4 separate regions of the Homo sapiens genome follow, and regions 1, 2 and 4 are each linked to region 3. Evidence: promoter capture Hi-C in 16 types of primary human blood cells and fetal thymus (Javierre and others, 2016). All regions are on one chromosome and are shown on one strand. The core of a region is centred on a gene start or on the middle of the fragment in contact, and the rest is flanking DNA. Distances in the headings are between cores, read along the strand shown.

The links. The method cuts DNA at HindIII sites, captures the fragments that hold promoters and counts their contacts. A CHiCAGO score of 5 or more calls a contact.
Region 1: a contact is called between a fragment that was not itself captured here and the fragment with the promoter of ARL5B in region 3, in 1 of 17 cell types (total B cells). The highest score is 7.5, in total B cells.
Region 2: a contact is called between the fragment with the promoter of DNAJC1 here and the fragment with the promoter of ARL5B in region 3, in 1 of 17 cell types (total B cells). The highest score is 5.5, in total B cells.
Region 4: a fragment that was not itself captured here is called in contact with the fragment with the promoter of ARL5B in region 3 in 1 of 17 cell types (total B cells); the score reaches 5.0 in total B cells.

Annotation. Positions count from the first base shown.
Region 1 is chr10:22,308,388-22,311,500 of GRCh38, reverse strand. No RefSeq gene overlaps it. Among named protein-coding and RNA genes, the nearest start is that of COMMD3, 6.4 kb to the left of the region's middle. The HindIII fragment of the contact is 2,535 bases long and covers 488-3,022 here.
Region 2 is chr10:22,002,471-22,005,232 of GRCh38, reverse strand. It overlaps DNAJC1 (DnaJ heat shock protein family (Hsp40) member C1), which reads left to right and starts at 1,503. Exons shown (of 12, transcript NM_022365.4): 1 at 1,503-2,020. The coding sequence starts at 1,799. RefSeq lists enhancers at 1,250-1,379, 1,410-1,459, 1,339-1,839 and a silencer at 1,500-1,869. The HindIII fragment of the contact is 6,929 bases long and covers 1-2,762 here.
Region 3 is chr10:18,658,000-18,660,819 of GRCh38, reverse strand. It overlaps ARL5B (ARF like GTPase 5B), which reads right to left and starts at 1,389. Exons shown (of 6, transcript NM_178815.5): 1 at 1,137-1,389. The coding sequence starts at 1,182. It also overlaps a transcript of NSUN6 not described here. RefSeq lists a silencer at 1,221-1,300 and enhancers at 1,611-1,740, 2,441-2,560. The HindIII fragment of the contact is 6,724 bases long and covers 1-2,346 here.
Region 4 is chr10:21,676,611-21,679,772 of GRCh38, reverse strand. The region is part of intron 11 of MLLT10 (MLLT10 histone lysine methyltransferase DOT1L cofactor); the gene reads right to left. Among named protein-coding and RNA genes, the nearest start is that of MLLT10, 140 kb to the right of the region's middle. The HindIII fragment of the contact is 170 bases long and covers 1,193-1,362 here.

The DNA.
Region 1 (3,113 bases), core at 506-3,005, 3.7 Mb before region 3:
AAATCACATAATTTCTATCTTCACCAGTTAATTTATATGAAAATTAGGAACTGGCCAATCACCTAATAAATTCCATCAAATAGACCATTTAGATAATAAGCACAGTTACCTCCTCAACAGCAGGTTGATTTTTTTTTCTGTACTAAAATTATAAACGTCACCACTTCAGTTTCCTATATCATTGATCTGGTATCAGCCAGGATGGCCCATGGCTTAGCTGTAGGAGGGTAAAGTGAAGAAGAGACATGAAACAAGTTTACATTGATGACTGTATCTAATTCTTCCATGTGTACACAGACAGTCCTTTAAATTGTTTTATATCTTTAAAAAGAGGGAGGGAAGGAGGGAAGAAGAGAGAGAAAGGGGGGAAAGAGGAAGAGGAAGGAAGAGAGAAAGGACCTGAGAAGTGTCACAGAAAGCTTATTTAGTGTTTATTTTCTGTGACACAATCCAAGATTCTTTTAGCTACAATGAATTCAACTAAGCTTCATTAGTAAGGCTTGGAAAAGACTGAAAGATCATCTGTTTTGTCCAGAATCTAATCAGTTTCAAGATGTCCTACATTTAGACTACAACAGCAGAGAATGTCTAACAGAGTCTCTTCGTTTTTTAGGTCTGGATTTGGAATCTCTGTGTTTTTTCATACCTTAGAAATTGGAGTTTGGGTTGGTTTCACGAATTCCAGCAAAAAATGGAACAAATGGGCCTATGCTGTGGGATATTATTGTTGAAAGCCAGTAACTTTTTCAAGTTTGTATTTTGAGAACATGCTTTTTACATGTTAAAATGTGTACAAATAAGTATATTTTGTTTAAGGAACTATAATTTTACAAACAAAAATGAAAACAAAAATAAAGGTTTTTGTAGATTAAAACCAAAGTAACAGTATAATTGCTTATAAACTGAAAAATGTAACTATATTCACTTGTCAAATGAAGCATTTTAGAATGGAAGTTAGTATATAAGAAGGGATGATTTGCATTAAATACATTATAAACAGTTAAGGAGACTTTACAGCTAAAGTACTTTTAACTCATTTAAAGTAAGCATTTAAACCAAAATTAATATTTCAAAAGAGCTTACATGGCAATGAAAGCCTAGATAAGTGTTTTAATATTTTTAATTGTGTACAATATTTAAAATGATACTGGTTAAGAATTTAACATTTTGGGCCGGGCGCGGTGGCTCACGCTTGTAATCCCAGCACTTTGGGAGGCCGAGGTGGGTGGATCATGAGGTCAGGAGATCGAGGCCATCCTGGCCAACATGGTGAAACGCTGTCTCTACCAAAAATACAAAAATTAGCCAGGCGTGGTGGCATGCATCTGTAATCCAGCTACTAGGGAGGCTGAGGCAGGAGAATTGCTTGAACCTGGGAGTCGGAGGTTGAGTGAGCCAAGATCGTGCCATTGCACTCCAGCCTGGCAACAGAGTGAGACTCTGTCTCAAAAAAAAAGAATTTAACTTTTCTATTATGGTTGTTATATTCAACAGAATACTGATTTTATCCCCCTTTTCAAATTAAATATAGACTTGAAGCCATTTTATGGATAAGTCAGTCTAAAAACTACATTTTTAAAAATCCTAGTAGAATAATTGTGTTCAGCTTTTTCACATTTGTTACATAGCTAGAACTATTCAGAAAATACTTTGAATTGTTTATACGTAGCTGATTTTTACACCGTGGTGAATGTTTAGAAAGTAGTTTTACAGAGTTTTGAGAAAACAAGCACCTAAAAAAATAGATTAAACTTTTCCACTGTGTTTCTTCCCATATACTCAGTTTTTCCCTGAACTTTTGTTTCATTGTTTTATTAAGGTTAAAACATAAATGTTTTTCTAACTCTCTCAAATGTTATTTTCAAAATTAATTTTCTTTGTGTAAGCATTTTAATCTATATTTTATGAAAGGGGATGGGGAGGCAAGTTTTATAAAATCTTTTTAATGTAACAAAACACCAAGAAAATAATGACTAGCAACAGGTGAAAGGGAGAATTGTATTTATATAGTCAGTTTAGTCCATGTAATTAGAAACTTGGACCTGAATTACTGGCGTAATTACTCAACTTTCTTTTCTTTTTTTCTTTTTTCTTTTTTTTTAATGCTAACAGAAATAGGCCGGATCATTTAGAGCAGCAGTATTCTAAATCAAAATTAATCAGATAATTGGCAACTTTTATTTGACTTTTAGTGCTCTATAAATTACAGACCAAAAACAGGAGAAATTTGCTAAAGAATAACAATGTAGATGGAAATATGTGGGTAAACAAGGCCCTAAGAAAACTGAATTTTCAAATGGTTTTCTTAGAATTTGAAAATGAAAGAAAATTTTAAATTAGGCCTAGCTGTGATATATAGGTGAGTAGTTGATAGATCTATAAGAAAACTTTTATTTTTGCTTAAACAATAATTAAAATGTTTATGAATTGAAATAAAAAATAGTTTTATAAGACCAAAAGTATCAATAAAGACATACATATTTTGTTTTATAAGTTTCAATAGCAATATACATTCTTCTTTATAAAGAACTTTCAACAGTGTATACTGGAAATGTTGGAAAAAAATTGATTTTGCACTTGTCAATTATAATAGAAGGAAAATAATATTCTTACATATGTTTTTATATACTTTTGAAAGTTGCCTTAAATTATTTTTGTAGCAAGATGAACATAAATAAAAATATAAAATACAGATGTTTAGAAGTCAGTTTAACCAATAATTAAAGTGCTTCTAGAAACCTAAAAGAGTGTTTTCAAACGAATACTTTTAAATTAATTTTAATTTCATTTTGGTTTTATTCTATTTCTAAAAGTTGCTATGATCAATATTTGTCTGTTTGTAGAAACTATGACATCTATGATGACAAATGTTCAAACTGAGTCATAATGATAGTCTGTTAGGTTAAAATCAAGAGTCACTACAGGAGAGTAGTCATTTTGCAAACATCCTGCCGTGTTAACAGGGGTTGGGGGAAAGCATATGTCATAAAGTAACAGACTTAAATCTTTAGCTAAGTAAGCTTTAAGTATCTGTCCATTGCTATAAATAGTATAAAGACAATCTAACTGTGTTTGCTTAAGCTTTTTATCTTAGCTTTCTTTTATGGTATTAA
Region 2 (2,762 bases), core at 254-2,753, 3.3 Mb before region 3:
GATGGGCTATCTTTAGATGGAGTAAGTCCCCGAGGTTCTCAGACAACATAAAGGTAAAACTCAAAAGGGAAATACTAGGCTGTCTGCTACAAGATCGGGGTAAGAATCCCAGATTTGTGGCAATATGGCACCAGTTTCAAAGGTTTTATTGCACTTAATCTAATGATCAAATTAGGAGAAAAGATGAATGTTACTATAATATGTAAAAGTAGTGCTTAAGATCATTAATTTCATCTTATTTCGATGTTTTGTTCATTGAATAAACAGTAACCTAATTTAGGGACTTGGTAAAGATGACGTTCACTTTAAGAAAACTGATATAACCAAAAATAAACTAGGCTGGGGGTGGTGGCTCATGCCTGTAATCCCAGCAGTTTGGGAGGCTGAGGTGGGTAGATCACATCATGTGAGGTCAGGAGTTTGAGACCAATCTGGCCTACACGGTGAAACCCCGTCTCTACTAAAAATACAAAAAATTAGCCAGGCATGGTGGCAGGAGTCTGTAATCCTAGCTACTCGGGAGGCTGAGCCAGGAGAATTGCTTGAACGTGGGAGGCAGAGGTTGCAGTGAGCCGAGATGGTGTCATTGCACTCCAGCCTGTGCAACAAGAGCAAAACTCCGTCTCTAAATAAATAAATAAATAAACTAAAAATCTGTGGTAGGGGGAATGGTGGTAGGGAGGTAGTCACAGGATTCAGTTCAACTAATTGAGTGCTCTCATGTGCTATGCATTGTGCTAAGCACACAATAATAAAGTCCACACAAGAGAATTGTGGTGGAGAAAATAACTTGAAAAGAGCTTGAACAGAAGCAATGCAAGACTAGAAGGTGAGACATTGTTATGGGAGAGGAGGTTTTTAGCCTGTCTTTTAAAACAGAAACATCTCAATTGAGGTCTGTTTTCAAAGGAACCCCAACTGGAGGTGGGCTAAGGTGGATAAACTACATTTCTCCTCCAACTATGATTGAGTCACCATTATTAACTGTTAATTCTACCAGGTCATTTTATGGTATTATGCCTGTAAATCTTAATTCATAATTAGAAGTATACTTTTTGTTTTGGTTTCAATTCCTTTTCTGCTCTACCTCTCTCTACTTACTAGATTTGCCCCTTTTAGAACCTGGTTCAACTTGTCCTGTCTTCTTTGCTGATGGACTAATTAAATGCATGGAAGCCATAATCAATTAATCAGGCTTCAAATATGCTTTTAGTGTTCGATAGCTAGGGGAGAGGAAGACAGTAGCTATTTCAGGGGAAGTCCACGTGGGGCGTTCCAGATGGACGCGAGATGGCTATAACCGTCCCTGTCTCTCAGCCCATGTGGGCGCAGGTACAGCTGCTCCGTGCGCGCCAGTGATTGAGAGGCATTTCACCCAGGCCCAGATCTGGGGCGCCAGGCGTCCAGGCTTCCGGCCACGCCCCCTTCCCGCGGTTGCTAGGAGACATGATGTCACCGGAAGCGAGGCCTGGGATAGGCTGAGGCGAAGGGAAGCCTCACCCACTGTGCAGCCCAGGCGCCGGGCGCTGCCTCTACAGCTGTGTGTAGGCCTGGGGGCGAGGGTCTTCGGAACGTAGCGCTGGCTGCGGCCCCGCCCGCCTACCCACCCGCCCGTCCGGCAGCCGGCTCCCGCCGCCTCCGCGCTCTGTCTGGGGCCAGCCACCTGGCGGGCCGCTCCGGTGCGCCTGCCCGCGCTTTTCACTGACAGGCGCTGTTCCCCACAGCCAGCGCCGCCCGCCACGTCCCAGCTCTCGGCCAACGGAGCTGCGCGGCGGGTGACCTTTCCGAGCCCAGCGCGATGACGGCTCCTTGCTCCCAGCCGGCGCAGCTTCCTGGACGCCGCCAGCTCGGGCTGGTGCCGTTCCCGCCGCCGCCGCCGCGGACGCCGCTGCTGTGGCTGCTGCTGCTGCTGCTGGCCGCCGTGGCGCCGGCGCGCGGCTGGGAGAGCGGAGACCTGGAGTTGTTTGACTTAGTGGAGGAGGTGCAGCTCAACTTCTACCAGTTCCTCGGGGTGCAGCAGGTAAGCAAGGAGGCGCGCGGGGCCGGGCGGAGAGGGGCCAGGGCAGGCGTCAGGCGACCCGGTTCCTCAGAGACAGCCGGACACGTAGGGCAGGGCTTGGTCACCCCGGGCTCTGGCTGCCCTCAGCTCGGGTCACCGGGGTCCTCAGCCTTGGAAGGACGTGTCCGTCTTCCCCAGATCTTTACTCCTGCTTCAACTTTTCTAGTCCCAGCCCCAGTGACAGGCTGGACGGCGCCACTAGCCTAGGGTGGCGATGCCTTCTCTCTGCTCCGGCGTTCTGGGGAAGAGCCTTCCCCCTCCAGCTGTGCTGGAGGAAGAACGAAGAGTGGTGTGGGTAGACTTTTTTTTTTTTTTAATTTAACACCTACCTTTTGCCTTCCTGTCCCCCTGAATGTGAGAAAGAGCAGCCGCTTCTCACCCTAAACTGTCATCTTCCACCGATACTTACCTCATCCTTATTCTTATTTCAGCTGCCTCCCCTCCTCTTCCCTTCTGGGAAAGTAGGAATGCACTGTGGCCAGTGTCTGTGTTGCAAAAGTTTTTCTTACTTTGTACTTCGTCATCTTTTTAGCCTGTTAGGTAGATGTTTGTTTCGCTTTCGCAGTTTAGAAATCTGGAGGAATTTGAAGCGTCTAACCAGGTTGGAGGTGTTAAGTTTTTTGAGCAGCAAAGGACTTGGGATGCGATTGGAAGAGAAGCCCCCGGTCAGTAATGTAGGAATGGGTTTTTTTTTCCCCTTTTC
Region 3 (2,820 bases), core at 140-2,639:
CCACAAAGTGTGAAGCTCTGCTCACTTTGAAATCATTTGATAAGTAATATTATCTGTGGTTACTGGATACAGGCATATACATATATATACACATGTGTGTGCCTGTATCTATATTTATAACCTTGAAAAAGACTGCTTTAGTGTTCTTATCAATCTACAGAACAAGTCAACTAAAGCCATTCCATTACCTCCACAACTTCTTAAATCCAGAAAAAGATTAGATACCTACATTAGCAGTAACAAATTGGTACCAACATAAAAGGAAATAAAACTGGCTTATTAACGATGCCCGGCTCTTAAATGTAAAATGAAACGAGTTGATTTTCAAAACTGGTTTCAATTACTAAGAAACCATTCTGTTCAAAGGACGCCTCAAACTTTAACTTATCGTCGGCCCCTTTTTTGGTCTGGGTGTTTTCTCTCTTCAGAAGACATCACATCTCATTCTGATTCAGAACAGGTTTTGCAACTTCTCGGCCCTTTGGACCTGCCACTTCCAGGTGTCTCATTACCTGTTACAGACTAATTACGGACACGTAACGTCTTACACAAAACCGAAAAGCATTTAGTTTCTGAACTAAATGCTTTAAAAAAAAAAGTTTACAATGAAGATGCTGGAAAACTCGTGCATCTGAATAGGACAACTCATTCCCAAGTCCTAGAGGAAAGGAGGCGAAATCAGAGTGAAAGTGCACTGGCTTACGGCTCAAACTGCAGGGCGGGAAAACAAAGCACCTACATTACTCAAAAAAAAAAAAGTTCTAGGTTTCTGGGCGGACACTTATCCTGGGGATACACATAGACACAAGCACGCTTCAATAAAGACGAGAAAGGCCCTCCATACGCCTCCTGGCATCATTAGCTGTATCCCGCTTTACTTCGCCAATATCCAAACATTCTCAGTTTGGATTCTGGGACGCCAAATACCTTCTCTTCTGCCTCCCTATTTCTCCCACACGTCAGGTCTCTCCTGTACGTCCTCCAGGTCTAAAACACTGAGTTTCTGCCCGCCCCCTGGCCTAAGTCCCTTCCTCCTCCGCGTCTCCGAACGCTCTGTCCCCTGTCTCCGGTGTCCCCATCGGCGGCGGGACCCTCTGCCTCGGATTCGAGCCGCCGCGCAGCTCCATTCTTCTCACCTTGGTTACAGAAGAGGCTCCACAGTTTGGCGAAGATCAGCCCCATCACGAGCACCGGGGCGGGCCGCGGGGTCCCTCGGCAGCAGGTGCCGCTGCGCCGGGTCCCCCACCGCGGCGCGGGCTGCGCGGAGCCGAGGAGAACCCGCCTGAGATCGCGCAGCGAGGGCACTGCTAGGCCGAGAAGCCTCGACCCGACCACTCAGAAGGCGCCGCGACGAATCCCCACCGGACAGCCCTTTGTTTCGAGCCCACTGAGCCCAACGCCGACCCGTAGTCCCCTCGGTCTGTACCCACCTACCTACCACAGCCTCTCCACAGCCCCAAGCCCCGCCTCCACCCCGCCTCCCCTCCGGATCCCAGGACCACCCATCGCCGGAAGCTAGGCGCGTGACGACGGCGCACTTACGGCAACCCACGCCTTCGACGTGGCGTTTTCTTCGGTTTCACTTCCGGTAGGAGAGTCCCAAACGGCCAGCGGCTGGGAATTTGCGGTATCGCGGGGGGGTGGGAAATTTCCCTTGGTGCGTGCTCCTTCTGATGTCAGCCTTCAAAACGTTTGTGGGACTCCCCTTTGATTTGAGTCTCTGCTGCTAGCAGCTGCTTCCCTGACCTCTAAAACCAGGAAAGACCATAGGTTCTCTAAGTGAGCAGCCGCCGTTTGCTGCTCTTAGAAAACTCACAGAAGTGAAGAGTGTTTCTTTCCTGACTTATTCCTGTTCCCCTAGGCAGGCGTGCTAGGGGTTAGGAGTTCTGCCGTGATTCTTCTTCATTCATTTATTAATCTATTCATTCACGTATTCATTCATTGGCTTATGCATTTATGTACTCATTGATTGATTGATCGATTGCAGACGAGGTCGGGCTGTGTTGCCCAGGGGGACTCAATTTCCTGGGCTCAAGCGATCTTCCTGCCTCGACTTCCCAAAGTGGTGGGATTGCAGGCTCAGCCACCGCGCCCGGCCCCTGTCGTGATTCTTAGTTCTGAAAAGAATTGATTGGGAGACGAGCCATGGAAGGCCTGGAGCCACAGAGTTCAGTTATGTGATTAATAATAACACATAATAATAACACATAGCACCCCTCTCCATTTTGCCAAGCATTAGGTATGTTCGTGGATCCCAGATCGAAGTCCACGCATAAGCCAATTCGCTGTGTAATTGTTTTCAATTCCACTTTCCATGGTTAGGTTCTAGCATTGAAAAGAAAAGCTTCACAGCCTGGCATGAAACGAAACTGAATGTCCTTGAAACCAGTTGACGGAGGAGCAAGCTTAAAATTTTTTTAGACTCTGACTTCAGTCAGATGGTTGGATTTTAACCTTGGCAACGTGGCCTTTTAACATGCCAAACTCTTGAGTTAACCTGTACAAGGAGAATGTATGACTTACGTCCTCCCAGTGCTATGGTTTAAAGACCCTTTAAGACTTAGATGCAGGATAATATGCTCCAACGTTACAACATTAAAGGCAAGTTTCAACCTCCTATGTAGAGGAAAAAGAATGTACTGACCCTATGCAAACTTAACTTTCATGACTATCAGTTGGACCATAAATGTGAATAATTTTGTGTTTGTGTAAGTAATGGCTTAAAAGGACATTTTTAGTCCTAGCTTCATTATCACAAAACAAACTTTAGATTCCGTAACAGCTTCTTCAATTGTTAGACATGGATGTAAACCACATTCT
Region 4 (3,162 bases), core at 28-2,527, 3.0 Mb before region 3:
ATAATGCAAGTATTCCAAAATCTCCCAAAAATCTGAAATTCCAAATACTATGGTCTCAAGAATTTTTAATAAAGGTTACTCAACCTGTACTTTGAAAGGACACAGTATGCCCCAAGAAAGGAAGTGAATGCTAAACCATCAACCCCTTGCAATTTGAGTTCTTTATGCCTCGTGTTCCATTACTGGAACCTAAGCTTGTGGGAGTTATTTATATCCTACTGCTCAAGGTCATCACCAAGGTCTGATTTTTCACACACAAAAAAGCGCAACCTCCAGCATAAATGGGTTAATGAATATCAGACTTTTCTCAGAGAAAATAACAAGATGGTTTTAGTGAAGAAAAAGATGTTCTCAACTTTCACTTTAGTAAATCAAATTTTTGTAATGTGGTGAAGATAAATAGCGAAGAGGAAAGGACAGATTGTCAACTCTTCCAAAACTGTTTTTGATGTTTCAAAAGACCTCGTGCCTAACTGTTCAGAACCCAAAAAAATGTACGTAGGAAAGAGTTCAGTCAAAAAACCAACAAAACCTATAAGCCCCAAACTTAAAACTCTTAGAAATCACTTTTAGAAACACACTAATTTTCCATTTTGTACAAGTCACTATAAAACAGGCCATTTATCAGGACACACTTCAATCCATAATACAAATTTTAGAATCTGAACTCTGAATCAAACATTTTATAGGTGTTTTCTAGGCTTCTACTCTAATTTGATCTACAGTTCCCAGAAAAAATGTACTCTGCTACAATTTGAACATGTCATGAGAGAATTTTGATTACTATTAAAACTGATGCTTTTAGCCAATAATTTCAAGAGGGAATCACATTAGAACCTGACTCTACTCCTGCTTTACATCCTAGTTGTAAAGGAGAAATAACAACATCAAGAGGAGCTGTCCTATTTCACAAGGCTGTTCCAAGGATCAAATGAGAGAGTAACTAAAGAGTTCCTAAGAAACTTAAACGTACTCAAATAAGAGATTATATTAGCATTGCCAAGCTGAATGAGATAGCATTTTTTTTCTTTTCCATTAATGAAATTCTTTCATAATGGTAACTAGCCAGAATAGTTATTTTAAGAAAAAGATCATTAGCCTATCAGTTTGATTTCTTCAGTCTGGCATTAATCTCTCAATGAACCCATCCTACCCTATAAACATCACCTTCACAGTGCCACAAATACAAGCTTCCTGTTCTTATTAGGCTTTTCCCTCAAACAGACCTTTACTTTCTTTTCAGGTAATATTGGCCTTCGTCTTCTGCCTACTTCAAAGTACAATTCAACCTCTCCATGATCTTTTCCAACTTAATAATACTTTTCATCATAAACTGGCAAAATAAATACTACATGAAAAGCTTTAAAAATAGCTGGGCCCAGTGGCTCACACCTGTAATCCCAGCATTTTGCGAGGCTGAGGCAGGTGGATCATGAGGTCAAGAGATGGAGACTGTCCTGGCCAACATGGTGAAACCCTGTCTCTATTAAAAATACAAAAATTAGCTGAGTGTGGTGGCGCGCACCTGTAGTCCCAGCTACTAGGGAGGCTGAGGCAGGGGAACTGCTTTAACTCGGGAGGCAGAGGTGGCAGTGAGCTGAGATCAGGCCACTACACTCTAGCCTGGTCAATAGAGCAAGACTCCAGCTCAAAAAAGAAAAGAAAAGAAAAGAAAAGCTTTACAAATAAAGTAATATGTCTTACAGCTTAGCTATAAACACTCAGAGGGGAAGTACAAAATCATACAGCATACTTCTAACCACATGACATACACTCACGAGACAACTAATGGTATTCATTCATTTCTTAAAATAATGTTTAACGTTTACTATGTCCAAAGCACTGTGCTGGCAGTGGGGATACAGTGGTGTATGTCAGAAACAGCCCCTAGCCTCAGGAGTTAGTATTATAGTGAATGTTATAGTTTAAACAACAGGTGCTTACAAAGGTCATCTTCGACATTACTAAATTATCGACCTGTCATTCAAGAAAGTCAATCTTTTAAAAACAGCATCATGAAAAACAACTTGTGATGATGTAATACATAATACAGTTGTCTTCTGTGTCTGTGGGATTCCACATCTGGGGATTCAACACCCTTGTATAGAAAATATTTGGAGGAAAAAATTGAGTCTGTACTGAATGTGTACAGACTTTTTTTCCTGTCATGATTCCCTAAGCAATATAGTATAACAACTATTTGCATAGCATTTACATGATACTAGGTATTATAAGAAATCTAGAAAAGAATGATTTAAGTACACAGGAAGATGTGCATAGGTTATATGAAAATACTATGACGTTTTATAACAGGAACTTGAGCATCTTGGACTTGGGTATTTATTTGCAGGAGGTCCTGGAACCAAGTCCCCATGGATGCCAAAGGATGACTGTATACATTTTCTCCTTCCTACTTATTTATTATATGGGGGGAAGCTTCTTGTTGTCACAATTACTAAATGATTTCTCAATTTCAAATTAGTCCAAAGGAAAAATTAACTTTTCATACCAATAAGAAACACTATTGCTGAAAGTTAAATTATTGGTTCAAATTTGTTCAGGGATCTCTTTGCTTAAAGTATGACTGACATTACACTAGTGTGGTGTTAGACCCTCATCAGCAAACATCTGTTGAGCTGTCTAATTAAATGGCTCTGGACCCAGGGAAAATGCATATCTCCATCACTTAAAACCTAAGAGAATTCTGTCTCAGTTTCTTGTCCTATATAATGAGTAATAACACTTAATGCTTATTAACTGCTTAACACAGTGTGTGGCACATACTAAGTGTTCATCAGCAGTTAGCAATTCTTAACTTACTATGATTAAAGCAGCACATGAAGCCAAGCCTCTTCTAGATAAGGATACGCTTTTTACTATTGTCAATAAATGTTCTGCACTAAGTCCTAAAATGTTTATTAACATACATAAAACTAAAGAATATATCTCAAAGAGTTTTCAATAATCTTATTCCATGATTATAGCTTTAACAAGACATAAAATATCTTCAGAGTAATTTTTTTTTTTTTTTTTTTTTTTTTTTTTTTTTTTTGAGATGGAGTCTCGCTCTGTCTCCCAGGCTGGAGTGCAGTGGCCCGATCTCGGCTCACTGCAACCTCTGCCTCCCGGGTTTAAGCGATTCTCCTGCCTCAGCCTCCCTAG